Linked DNA regions of Homo sapiens: region 1 is linked to region 2. Evidence: promoter capture Hi-C in 16 types of primary human blood cells and fetal thymus (Javierre and others, 2016). All regions are on one chromosome and are shown on one strand. The core of a region is centred on a gene start or on the middle of the fragment in contact, and the rest is flanking DNA. Distances in the headings are between cores, read along the strand shown.

Region 1 (5,940 bases), core at 1,935-4,434, 420 kb before region 2:
TAACCTAAAATCATTTCTCCAGAGCAAGACTGGAAGAGGAAACTTTAGAGGTTGTTATGTCAGTAATAGCATTCAAACTATCAGTTGTGTCACCTGACCTTCCCCCTAGAATTCTAGGTGGAGAAGATTGAGGAAGCAATGAGAAGAATTACACAAGGAAGAATCTGTTTGAAAAACCACTCTATTCTGTCATTCTGTTAATTCAAAAAATATTTTTGAGCACATACTGTATACTAATCCTTGCATACGGTACAAGGGAATTCAGAAAACAATAAAACAAAGTCTCTGCTTTCAAGGTACTCACAATCTTTCAGGCAAGTTTGGTTCCCATAAGCCAAACACCATGCAAAGTTATACTGATAAAATCAAGGTAGGTCTAAGAGAAAGGAGGCGAGAGGAGGAGAAATTAATTCTGTGTAGTGAAAGGAAGAGGTATTCTGGAATCCTCAAAACTTTCAGAAAGGCCTGAGTTTCTAGATAAAGTTGCAGCTGAATCTGGCATCCTTTGGTTTTCATCAGTTTCCTTTTTTGCTTAAGCCCGTTTGTGTTTTCTGTCACTTGCAAACAAAGTTCTCTAACTGAAGGAATTCTATGCTAAACAGAAGGAGAAAGAGAGTTAGTCAAAGAACTTCTAGTGAAAAAACAGCAAGTAGGAGAAGTAAGTCCAAAGAAGCAGGAAGGAACTACCTAGAAAGCCAACTAAGACAGCCTCCTGTGAGAAAGGAAGGTGCATGGAATTCACAAACAGACTCTAAGTCAGAAAAAGCAGCAAGGACTGGAAAAGAATTCACACAGGTCACAGTGGAGTGTGTTAAGGTGATGCTGAAACTGGAAAATAAACTCATGAGAATAGAATGAGAGTCTTACTGGTGTGGGGGATGGGGTGGAGCCCAATTACAGATAGTCACAGTGCTCATTGAATGTATAATGTAAACATACTTGGAAATAATTTAGTAATTTGTTACAGCAAATGAGATGTTAGAATGAAAGTGTGGTTATGGTTGATATGCTTGTACTCTAAATAGAATCGATTTATGGTTAATAGAATGATTCGTGTGAGCAATATCGCTGGCTCGTTCTCCTACAATGTGTGTCAGTAGACAAGGAACAATAGCCTAACTTTCCAGCACTTCTGTATTTTAGAAGTAACAAGTGGCAAGCCTCACTCTCTTGCCCCATATATATATGAGGGAATGAGCAAGGAATTTCACTTCCTTGCACTCATGTCTGAGAGAAGAGATGGAATGATGGGCCGAGATTAATACGATGATATTTATTTAGTGTAAATATAAAACCCTGAGTTTCAGGTAAAAATGCAAAACAAATAAGGACAGATGCAGGGAGATTCTCTGAAAGAGACCTTGAGTATTTAGCGAACCACAATTCAAAATTGAATTGTCTGTGGGGACATGACAGGAAAAGGCATTTGTGGTGGGTTCTGACTGCAAGAGAGGCTGAGGAAGAGGAGAATGAATGACTTAGCTAGATGGATAAATTGGCTTCAGGTCACGGGGATCATGAATGCCTAGCTCAGCGTTTTCCCATCAATCCTGTGGACAAAAGAGAAATGAAGAAAAAGCATTGAGAATGCAAGGCCACGAAAGAAATGAAAGTGGCAAATTCGAGCCTCTTGGGTTACGTGAAAATGCCTAAAAGCGAGCTAACTTCTGAAAGCAGCCCTGCTTGAAAAGCCTCAGCTATCTGGGGGCCCCGCCCGGCCGTCAGTAAGCTCCACCCCTCGCCAGACTCCGCCCCCAAGCCCGAAGAGTCTGGGAGCTGCCCCAATCCCGAGGCCCGGTTTAGCCTAACTCCACCCCCGGCCGTCATGCCTCGCCTCTCTGTTTCCGTGGAGACGCTCTCGGCGTCCCCTGTCTCCGCTCCGGCGGAGCCAGGCTTCGGAATCACTGAGAGAGGAGGGGGCAGCGCCAACGCCCAGCACCTGCCGCCGGTGGGGGACTGACTTCGGCGGAACGGAAAACTGGAGTTGTTTCCCTGGGCCAGTGCACCGAGGTTCGTGACGGCAGGGGCGAGGTTGGGACCGGACTTCCTCAGCTCCTTGGAGAGGCAGGCTGTTCTTCAGGCAGCCCCTTCCCTGACCCCTACAGCCAGCCCTTCCTCCATCAGTCTTTCTCAAGCTTCCTCAGTCCAGGCCCTCGCCACTTACCTCAATAAACGAATTGAAAGAGAAGTAGGGAAAGGCGCCAGTTCCTCTTGCTCCCCAGTTCACCTGACCCTCTGAGGGGAGTGAAAAACTAGGCATAGGATAAGTCCTTTAGTCCTGTTGAGAACTAGGTGGGAACAGAAAGGGAACTGAGATGCTCTCCGTTTTTGGCAAAGATAACTGTATCTCGTAAATTTGAGAGAACAAATGGTTATCCCTAATGTCACATTTGTATTGAAATACATCAATACATATACATATTTCAGATGTTTTGGCATTTCACTGATTTAGTGATTAGTTTCTCTCATAGGATCTATACTTGGGGATTTTCTTTAAAAGTTCATCTAAACTTAGATGGTAGGAAGTATTTGTTGTAAGAGTGAATCTTATTCCATGACTTGGAGCGGGGAGAGGAGTTACACTACTGAATGATTTTAAATTTTTCTTCTTTGCTATTATTCTTTGCTTCCTGATTTTCAGGCTGAAGTCTATAAGCCTGGAGAGACCATCAGCAGTAATCTGCAAATGTAAGTCACGTGAAATATGGCTTGCCTTCAAACTCATTTCCTGCTTGATTTTGTGATTTAGCCATCAATGTCAGCTGGTAGGAAATGTGTGTTTTCTATTTATTTTACTAAACAACCTATCTACCCATGAGAGAGTGCCAGAAGTGTCCAAAAATTATGATACCGAGAATAAACATTATTACTGACTCTTTATAAACTTAATTATGTTTTTTTTTTTACTTAGGGAGCATAATTAGTGATATTTCTTCTGTAGTTTTCATTAAACTTTCATAGTAAAAGAGCTTGGATAATATGAAAAGTTTTAATTCTTATGAATGATTTTTAGTAAAATCCTACTTGTTTTGAACTCGTGATGATGTATAATAAACTTGCTTACTGTGGTTTACTGGCTTTATTTCTCTAATCTCAGTTTTTACTCCAAAGTGACTGAACCCTGCAGACACTGGTCAGCCTCAGACATAGTCATTCTCCAAGTAGCCTCCATTTACATAGTAGTAGGTCTCCCTCCTTTGTGTTTCCTGATAAAGGCATCTCTGGGGATAGAGGGCAGGAGAGTTACTCTTTGAAGAATTTTACTTGGGGGCCAAAAATTTAAGCTCACACCATGGGACACATTCAGCCTGACCTAGCACTCTCAAACCTTTCATCCTGTATTTCTCCATTTTCATTTGTCTTTGCATGTGGGGGCCAAACTTAGAGATTGTAGCTGTGATACAAGAGCCAACCAGCAGATCAAAGAGTACACCAAATTTCTTCTGAATACCAACAGTGGAATGGCTTCAGGCGGCCTTTTGATCTTTGTCTCAGCACCCGATGATGCCACACTGTAGCACTGCCCACTTGCTAGCACTGGCGGAGGTTCCTGTGGGTCCTCCTAACAGGCTGATTCAGCCTGAGCTCCTGGGGCTAAGCTCATTTGGTAGCAGCCAAAGAGGTATCTTTCATTCTTCTTCTTTCTTACTCACCTGAACCTGAGCAATTTCCCTTCCTGCAGCCACACCATCTTGTGTGTTTTCCCCTGAGATGTTGATCTGGGAGAACCCTAAGGAGGTGCCATAACTAGTGGTGATATGCTCCATTTATGCTACAGGCCTGGGTCAGTCACCTCATAGCACTAGTCCCATTCTTCATTGTTGAGTCTAAATTGGAGCTCACATGGGAACTGAGAATGCTGTCTGACCAACACCAGGAAAATGATGCAACTCATATTAACAAAGACCAAAAGGCTTTCTTTACAGGTATTTAATTTAATGGAAGTACTGCAAACCCTGCTTGAACTTGTAAGGCATAAAAGATGGCAATTACTTAGATAAGAAACTAATTTGTTACAGGACCCCTTTAAATATTTGCTGCATTCAAAATATTAACTCTGTCATAAAATTCAGATCACACATTATCTGTTGTGTAAAACAAAATACCTTATGTGGCCACGTATTGATTCTGAGAAACAAAATTCACTTTCCCGATGGGCATAGGTAAGGTAGGATGTGGGGTTCAGAAACAAAGAGAAAGCCTGTTCAACTTCCATCCTGACTCTAAGCTTAAACTGTCCAACATAGATTGATTGAGGGATATTTTTTCCAACATGCTTTTTTTTTTCCACTTTATCATTCAGCTCTGATAACTTTTTTTCCACTTTATCATTCAGCTCTGACCACCCCCCATTCAGAGTTTGTGCCTTGAGGCTTGCCAGCAGGGCTTGCAGTACTTACATTAAACTAAATTTAAGAGTAAAGGTGCTCCTGCTGCTAATGTTCTCAGATCAGAGGAGAGCAAAATGAAGGAACTGGCAGCTGAAACTTTAATGGTAGGAAACGTTGACTCAGAATTTTGAAAAAAAAAAAAAAAAAAAAAAAAAAAAGCACAGTTGATCTGTATGACAAAGAAGACATATCCCTCTCCATGTATGTCATTTGCATTTGGTTTCTATTCCATGCTTACATTTTCTAACAAAAATCATCGAACTCAAGTAAACATCAAAAAGGATAAATTTTATATAACATGCTGGTATGCCAACTTTGGTGGGGAGTTATACGCACCTGGATGAGCTATCTTGGCTGGATCAGCACCTCTGGGGGCTGCTCTCTTTTATCTGTCTACAAATAGCTGGATGTTCTTAGTATTCAAGGAAATTGCAAGCACTGTTCCTCATTTTGAAGCTCCTGGGTGAACTCTTCAAAGACCCCTGCAATTATGAAGAGATTACCCTGGCCCCAGTGCCCACTGCATAATGCTTTGGCAAGTAAAGTGGGGCTTTTAGAAAAGAGTCTAAAATTTATAGAGGATGGAATGCCCCAAATGAGGCAAACTTAGTTGTTTTCTTCTCTCCCTTTTTAAATTTACTAGGGCTACACTGGTGTGGGTTAAGAACTTAGATGATTCCGATGTTCACTGTAACATTGGAAGACTCTGGAACTCTGTGGAAAAGTCTTCACAGCTCCTCTGAAGTAAGCTCTTGGGAGGCCCGTTTGGGGAGCTTTGGTGTCCCTTCAAACCTCACATGAGTTATAACTTCTTACCATATGCTCTGTATGATGCTGCCATTTAGTAAGTTCTTGTTATTCCAGTAACTCAACTGTTTAATATAACATCTAATCAGAAAAATAGATTTTTTAAATTAAAAAAATTGTCATTACGTTATGAAGTTATAAAGGGTAATATAGTATGTTTCTAATGTTTAGTCTGTAGGAGAGGACTAACATTTGCTGTTTAGATTGTGCACTTTAAAGCATAGACCCTTTAAAGGGTAGACCCTTTGCTTTCCAATTAATGTTCATTAACTTCCACTCTTAATGCCTTAACTGCATAAAATAAGTGGGCATTTTGTTTCATAGATCATATCATGCCTTGATAAACTGGTAGTACTAGGATTCTGTTATATTTAAAATAAACCACTGATCTCCATTAGAATTCTCTTTAATTATGTAAAAAATTATTTTTAGGCCAGGATAATAATCTTTTTCAGTAACACAAAGCTGTCTATTTCTACACTGAATTTCAGAAGATTTTCTCTCGTCTTAGTGCTTCTGCACCCCTACCTCCACCATGGCTTTGTAGCACTAGAGGAATATTGTGTCTTAGCTATCCACAGGTGGTTCTATTTCAGGTTTGACTACATCTCTCCTTCTCTACTCCTACCTAAGCCACCACTCTCTCTCCCCTGTATTTCACAGGAGGTTTTGGGCTGGCCTCTCTGCTGTCTACCCTTTCCCCCACTACAGTCTAACCTGAAAGAAAAACTCAGAGTGATTT
Region 2 (6,140 bases), core at 1,986-4,485:
ACTTATAGAATAAGAATATAAAGAAAATATTTTGGACAGCTGTATGATGTGTTTTAAGCTAAGTGCTATAACAAGAGTCAAAAAGTAAAAAAATTAAAAAGTTTATAAAGTTAAAAGTTACAGTAAGTTATTACTGAATTTAAAAACTGTTAAATTAAATGTAGCCCAAGTATAGTATTTATAAAATCTACAATAGTGTAATGTCCTAGGCCTTAACATTCATTCACCACTCACTCACTGACCCACCCAGAACAACTTCCAGTCCTACAAGCTCCATTCATACACCACTCACTCACTGACCCACCCAGAACAACTTCCAGTCCTACAAGCTCCATTCATAGTAAGTGCTCTATACAGGTATACCACGATTTTTTTTTTAAAGGAATGGAATCTTGTTATGTTACTCAGACTGGCCTCAAACTCCTGGATTCAAGTGAGTCTCCCGTCTCACCCTCTCGAAGTAGCTGGGACTAGAGGCACACACCACTACTCCTGACTCCATTAAAAAAAAAAACCTCTTATACTGTAATTTTTCTATGTTTAGATATGTTTAGATACACAAATACCACTGTGTTGCAACTGCCTACAGTATTCAGTATAGTAACATGCTGTATAGGTTTGCAGCCTAGGAACAATAGGCTATACCATATAGTCTAGGTGTGTTGTACACTACATTATTTAGGTTTGTGTAAGTACACTCTATGATGTTTCTCTAATGATGAAATCGTCTAACCATACATTTCTCAGAATGTAACCCGGTGGTTAAGCAATGCCTGACTGTATTAATTATTGTTCATCTCTTATTGTGCCTAATAATATAAACCAAAAATTATCATCATAGGAATGTATGTATAAGAAAAAATACCATAGCATATATAGATAGGGTTCAGTACAACCAGCAGTTTCAGGCATCTACCTAAGGTTCTTGGAATGTATCCTTTCAGGATAAGGGGGGACTACTGTGATTGAGTTAAGGCTCTTGAGAGATCATTTTGGATTATCTGGGTAGGCCCTAAATCCAATGACAAGTGTCTTTATAAAAGATACACAGAAAAGGAGGTGCAACGTGAAGATGGATGCAGAAACTAGAATAATGTGGCCACTAGAAAGAAATACAGAGGGGAATGTGATGTGAAAACAGTGGCAGAGATTGGAACACTCTAGCTACAAGCCAAGGAAGGCACCACCAGAAACTAGAAAAGGCAAGGAAGGACTCTCCCCTAGAGCCTTCAGCGGGAGTATGGCTCTGCCAAAATCTTGATTTTGGACTTCTGTCCTCCAGAACTGTGAGATAATAAATTTCTGTTGTTTGAAGGCATCCAAGTTCGAGTATTTGTTTCAGCATCCACAGCAAACAAATACAGGCCTTAAGAGAATATAATTCATGGTACATTATATTCTTTTCCTTTAAGTACCATTAAAAACAGAACAAAAAAATCTCTGAGTTAGATTCTGCTCTACACAGATCAAAGAGGTATTAGTAAATAATTTGTGAATAGCTGTACAGTTAAAACAGCTCAATTTCTGTAAACTTAATGTTTAATGATGTTTTAATACAAAACTATCCCTTCAATGACTGAGACGTATGACTCTTTAACCTACTAAGAAATTACTATAAGAAAATAATTATGTTGTAAACTATCTTTCATTTATCTTCACTTATCTTCTGACTGCCTGACAACTAACATCAAATTTTATATTTCATGTACCTGTCTCTTTTCAGAGTAAACTGCTTAATGTCATCTATGTCTCCCTGTTAAGTTCTTTTTATCTTGAAATTAATTTTTTTTCATGTTGCCTGATGTATAATTAGATGACACTTGGTACTGTGTAACCTACAACTGGGAGCACAACTCTTAAAGTGGCTTAGTTTCTGGAAGTCTTGCCATCAAGATAAAGCTAAATTAAATAGAGGAAATGACACGACGAGTGTCTTTCCAGCTTTGAATAAATTCAGAATTAAAGTCTGTCATCACGAAACAATCTCTTCCAAACCTTAAGTTCTATTTTTAACCATTTAAGTGGCAGATGCCAGGTTATTTCAAAATATCACATACTATTTTCTTTCTTTCTTCATTTGGATGAATGATACAGTGGAGTTCATGCTCTTGCAGGGTCTACCGGTAGGAAGTCCATTCATGAAACCATCAATGTCACTGGTTGCCACAAGACATTTCAAGGAAGAAACTGGCAGATAGAACTAGCACTCGTGGCAATGGAAGGTAGGACTCCCCAACCTCTCAGACTCAATCCCCCACCACTTCCGCGTTGGAATCCGCGACCCTCTTCCCAGAGTTTTCCTGTGGCTTGGGTAGGTCAGCCCTGGGGGCGAGCCAGAGCGGGCACCCGCGCGCCCAGGGGCTTGCCAGCGCAGACCCCACTCCGCCCGCGAGTAGCTTAGTTGGTGGGGAGACTTCAGCTGTCACTCTCGGCCCGCAAAGGCAGATCTGCCCCGATCCCTGCAGCCCTCCCCAGTCCCGGAGACAGGTGTGGGCCGCAGAGGGAAGGGGATCCGGACCAAATGCCCACCCGCAGGCGAGCGACCTGGCGAGGTCGGGCCCACCTTCCTTGGGTTGTAGCGGACGCCGGCAAGCAGGGGTCCAGCGAACGTGGGCATCTGCCCGGCGCCGGATTTTCAACCCACCGCCAGAGATAAGGCTCCCCGCCCACCAGCGAGCCACTTTCCCGCGCGGACACCTCTAACTCCGGCAGCTCAGGCTGGGAACTCGGAGATCCAGAGTGGCCTCCCCTCCCCCCCGCGCATACGTCAGCGCTAGCGTCGTGGAAGCGCCGTAATGTCCCGAAGAAGCGCGTCTCCAAACTTGCACCCCGCTGCCGCAGCTTCAACGGAGAAATCCCTTGCCCCAAGCACACGTCAGCCCTGCCCGCGGAGTCATGGCACAGCAAAAGAGAGGCTCTCCATGGAGATATGCTCCAGAAGGGTGGGTGGCTGTGCCTAAAGGTTTGTTAGAAAAGGACAGTCAGTGAGGCTTGCTGGCTGTGGCGCCTTACGACGCTCTCCCCGACCCCTCGTCATTCAGAAGGTTCCGCAGGTCTCGACAGCGGTGCGCTTGTCAGCCCCATCCGGCGGCCAGCCTCCCTTGCCGGATCGCCCACGTTGTCGGCCTGGTCCGAGTTCTTCATTTCAAAGCATCTGCACCTGCGAGCCCGCGGCCAGAGGCGCTGGGGGCGTTTGTGCGCGTGTATTCTGAGGCGCGTGGTAGTGATGGCGGCGCTCAGTGAGACTTTCCTGTCACTGGCTACTACTACTCCCAACCCTCCTCAAAGCCGCCGGAGCAACCCCCAGGTCTTTACTTTACAATCGGCAATTTGACTTGCTCTGCTGCATGTCTGGAGGGACCAAGGAAAGTGTGGAGACGCTCCAAGGATTAGGTGATCGGAGCTTGAAAAGAAAAAAAGCCAAACAAATAAACAAAACCCACCCACCCTAACAAATATGAGGCTGCTGGAGAGAATGAGGAAAGACTGGTTCATGGTCGGAATAGTGCTGGCGATCGCTGGAGCTAAACTGGAGCCGTCCATAGGGGTGAATGGGGGTAAGTGCTGCACCTCTGCCGGCTCCACCGCGGCTCCCACTTCAGAACTAATTTGTGAGTCTTGGAAAGGTGGGGCAACCCTCATTGCAAGCGCTTGCCAATTTCAGGGGGCACTGACCAGCCTTTGGCCCTTTTGCTGATTTTCTAATTTACCAACCCCAGAGGGAACTTGTAATTAGGAACGAGGCAAAGGAATTTGAGGGCAGGTAGCCTTTTCCGTAGACAAACAATGACTATCCTGAGTGTCAAGAAGTGAGGTTACAGAGAATGAAACTTACTCCTCTTGCCTTCAAAGTAGCATCCTATCCCAAGGGAATCTAGGTTGCTAAGAGTTCCGTATCTATCTTGGAGTGGACCTCATTATCGAGTCTACTTTCGAGTCCTCCCCGCCCCCACATTAAAAAAAAAAGTGGAGGAAAAACAAGAAAAGGGACACCTCCGCCCCCAACTCAGATTTTATGGCCCACATGTTGGAGAGTGATGATTTGCTGTAGTTGCTGGTGCTCCAGAAACTCCCAAGCCGACTGACACGTTGCACTCTTTGATTACAGGACACTTCATTACAGCATACTTCCGTGTGCTGCCGGGATTCAGTTGCTATACTAGCAGTCTAACAGATACAGACTGTTAGACTATGTGTAGTGTAGTGTAGTGTGTGTTTTGGCAAGGAAATGTGGATGGACTGAAAGCATACTTAGATCTCTGAATAGTGGGAGCTTTGTACAGGAGATGATGGGCACTGGTGGGAACATTAGAAATATTAGTTTTTTATGCCCCCCCCAACACCTTTAGACAATCTTGTACTACTTTTCATAAACATTAATTGAATTTATTCAATTCGCTTGTCTTTTTGACCTTGTTTGTCAGTTTCCAAGCTTATTGACAGGTTTAATACCTAACTCATGCAACCGGAGCAAATAAGGATAGAGGTGAACAGGCACAATATTTCATAGTAGGAAGCGCTCAGGAGGATATTTGAAGTTATTTTTATCTTTTTGTTAAAACATGATGGAAGTGAATGAAATGATCTCTTAGGAGAACAGCAGTGGTCCCTTCTCCCCTTAACCTCCACCCCATTACTCTGTTTAGAAGTAGCTTCCGGGAACATTTTAAAAGGAATTATTTAAACCAAAATTGTGGAGATGAAGGATTGTTTGTTTTAAAATTTTGTTCTTCTGTATTCAACTTAGAACAAAATGTGTAGAATATGTAACTGTGAGAATAAAGCAGTTATTCCTGGTGGTTTCTCCCTCTGATTGATGGTAATAGTTTCTTCTTTAACACTGCTGCTCTGTGAACTTTTGGGAAACTCTTGTGAAGATCAGGTCTGTCAAATGAAGACCCCCTATCCCCGGAGCTAAATGAATAGTAAGACTTAGAGTACCTTTGCATGATCTGCAATGCACACTTCACTAGCTATCGCTTCTCGTGTTAGATCTCTTATTTGCTCAGTTTTGAGATGAAATTACAGAGGATGTATGATCTTTAACTTTAAATCTGCAGGGGCTAAGTTTGGCAAAATATCTTTTACCTTGCATTCCTAAATATTCTGTGGGAAGAAAGGTGTTGAATGCTGAATCATTTCCGTGGGGCTTTTCTGCAGTGGCATGTATGAGATAGATTCTGCAAACTTATGTGTTCCATAGACTCTGCTTATTAATATTTTGGTACATTATTGTATCATAGAAATGCCATTTCCCATTTCCACTAGTCCTTCTGTCTTTAATGTAGGATAATTCATTCCTTTGTTTAATTATAATAGAATGTTAAGAGGGGGAGGGGAATATTTAAAGTGTTTTAAGCCAACATGCTTCTTTTACAGTTGAAGATACCAGGTGACTCTCTCTAGGTTAAGGTAGCTAGCTTAGGGAAGAGGAACTATTGGAGACCAGGGTATTTAAAATTCCTGGGAAACTTCTACTTCCCAAGCAAGCCAGATTCCTTGACTTTAAAATCTGCTCCTGAATCACCTTGCTTAGCTGCTGAAGAAATATTACCTGTGTGAGCTGCTGAGACAGATTCACTAACAAATATAAAGATAATGTACCTCTTATAAAAGTTTTTGAGCAGCCTTCACTGCCCCCAAATGCAATGCCTTTTGCACTTGCCTTCTCCCTTTCTTTCCCTTTTCTTAGATCTCAGCAAAATGATTTGTGTAAATGCCAGGCATATTAAATAATTTATTACAGCATTTGAGGAAATCTTTGTTTCTTTTATTCATTGTTGTACTACAAATGCCTAAGACATAGTAGGTCATCTCTCTCTATATATAGATAATATTATATATTATGTTAAATAATGTATTATATATTATCATATTATATATTATGTTATATATTGTATATAATATGTTATATATTATATAAAATATATTATTATATATAATATATATTCTCTCTCAGAGGGGCCTTGAGATATTATGTATATTATATATTATGTACATTATTGTATCATATATTATATATTATGTTATATACATAATATATATTAATTATATATTATATTATATATATATATATATATATATATATATATATATATATATATATATGGTGATTTTTCCTGAGCTTGGTCTTCTGTCCA

What was found. The method cuts DNA at HindIII sites, captures the fragments that hold promoters and counts their contacts. A CHiCAGO score of 5 or more calls a contact.
Region 1: a fragment that was not itself captured here is called in contact with the fragment with the promoter of SLC10A7 in region 2 in 1 of 17 cell types (fetal thymus); the score reaches 5.3 in fetal thymus.

The regions. Positions count from the first base shown.
Region 1 is chr4:146,941,779-146,947,718 of GRCh38, reverse strand. TTC29 (tetratricopeptide repeat domain 29) reads left to right here and starts at 1,855. Exons shown (of 13, transcript NM_031956.4): 1 at 1,855-2,010; 2 at 2,642-2,688. It overlaps TTC29-AS1 (TTC29 antisense RNA 1), which reads right to left. Exons shown (of 7, transcript NR_188447.1): 2 at 4,728-4,873; 3 at 2,165-2,288. RefSeq lists a silencer at 1,723-1,862. The HindIII fragment of the contact is 2,093 bases long and covers 2,138-4,230 here.
Region 2 is chr4:146,519,035-146,525,174 of GRCh38, reverse strand. It overlaps SLC10A7 (solute carrier family 10 member 7), which reads left to right and starts at 3,235. Exons shown (of 12, transcript NM_001029998.6): 1 at 3,235-3,557. The coding sequence starts at 3,458. RefSeq lists enhancers at 2,388-2,467, 2,638-3,057, 3,068-3,147, 3,368-3,437, 3,878-4,107. The HindIII fragment of the contact is 7,940 bases long and covers 1-4,434 here.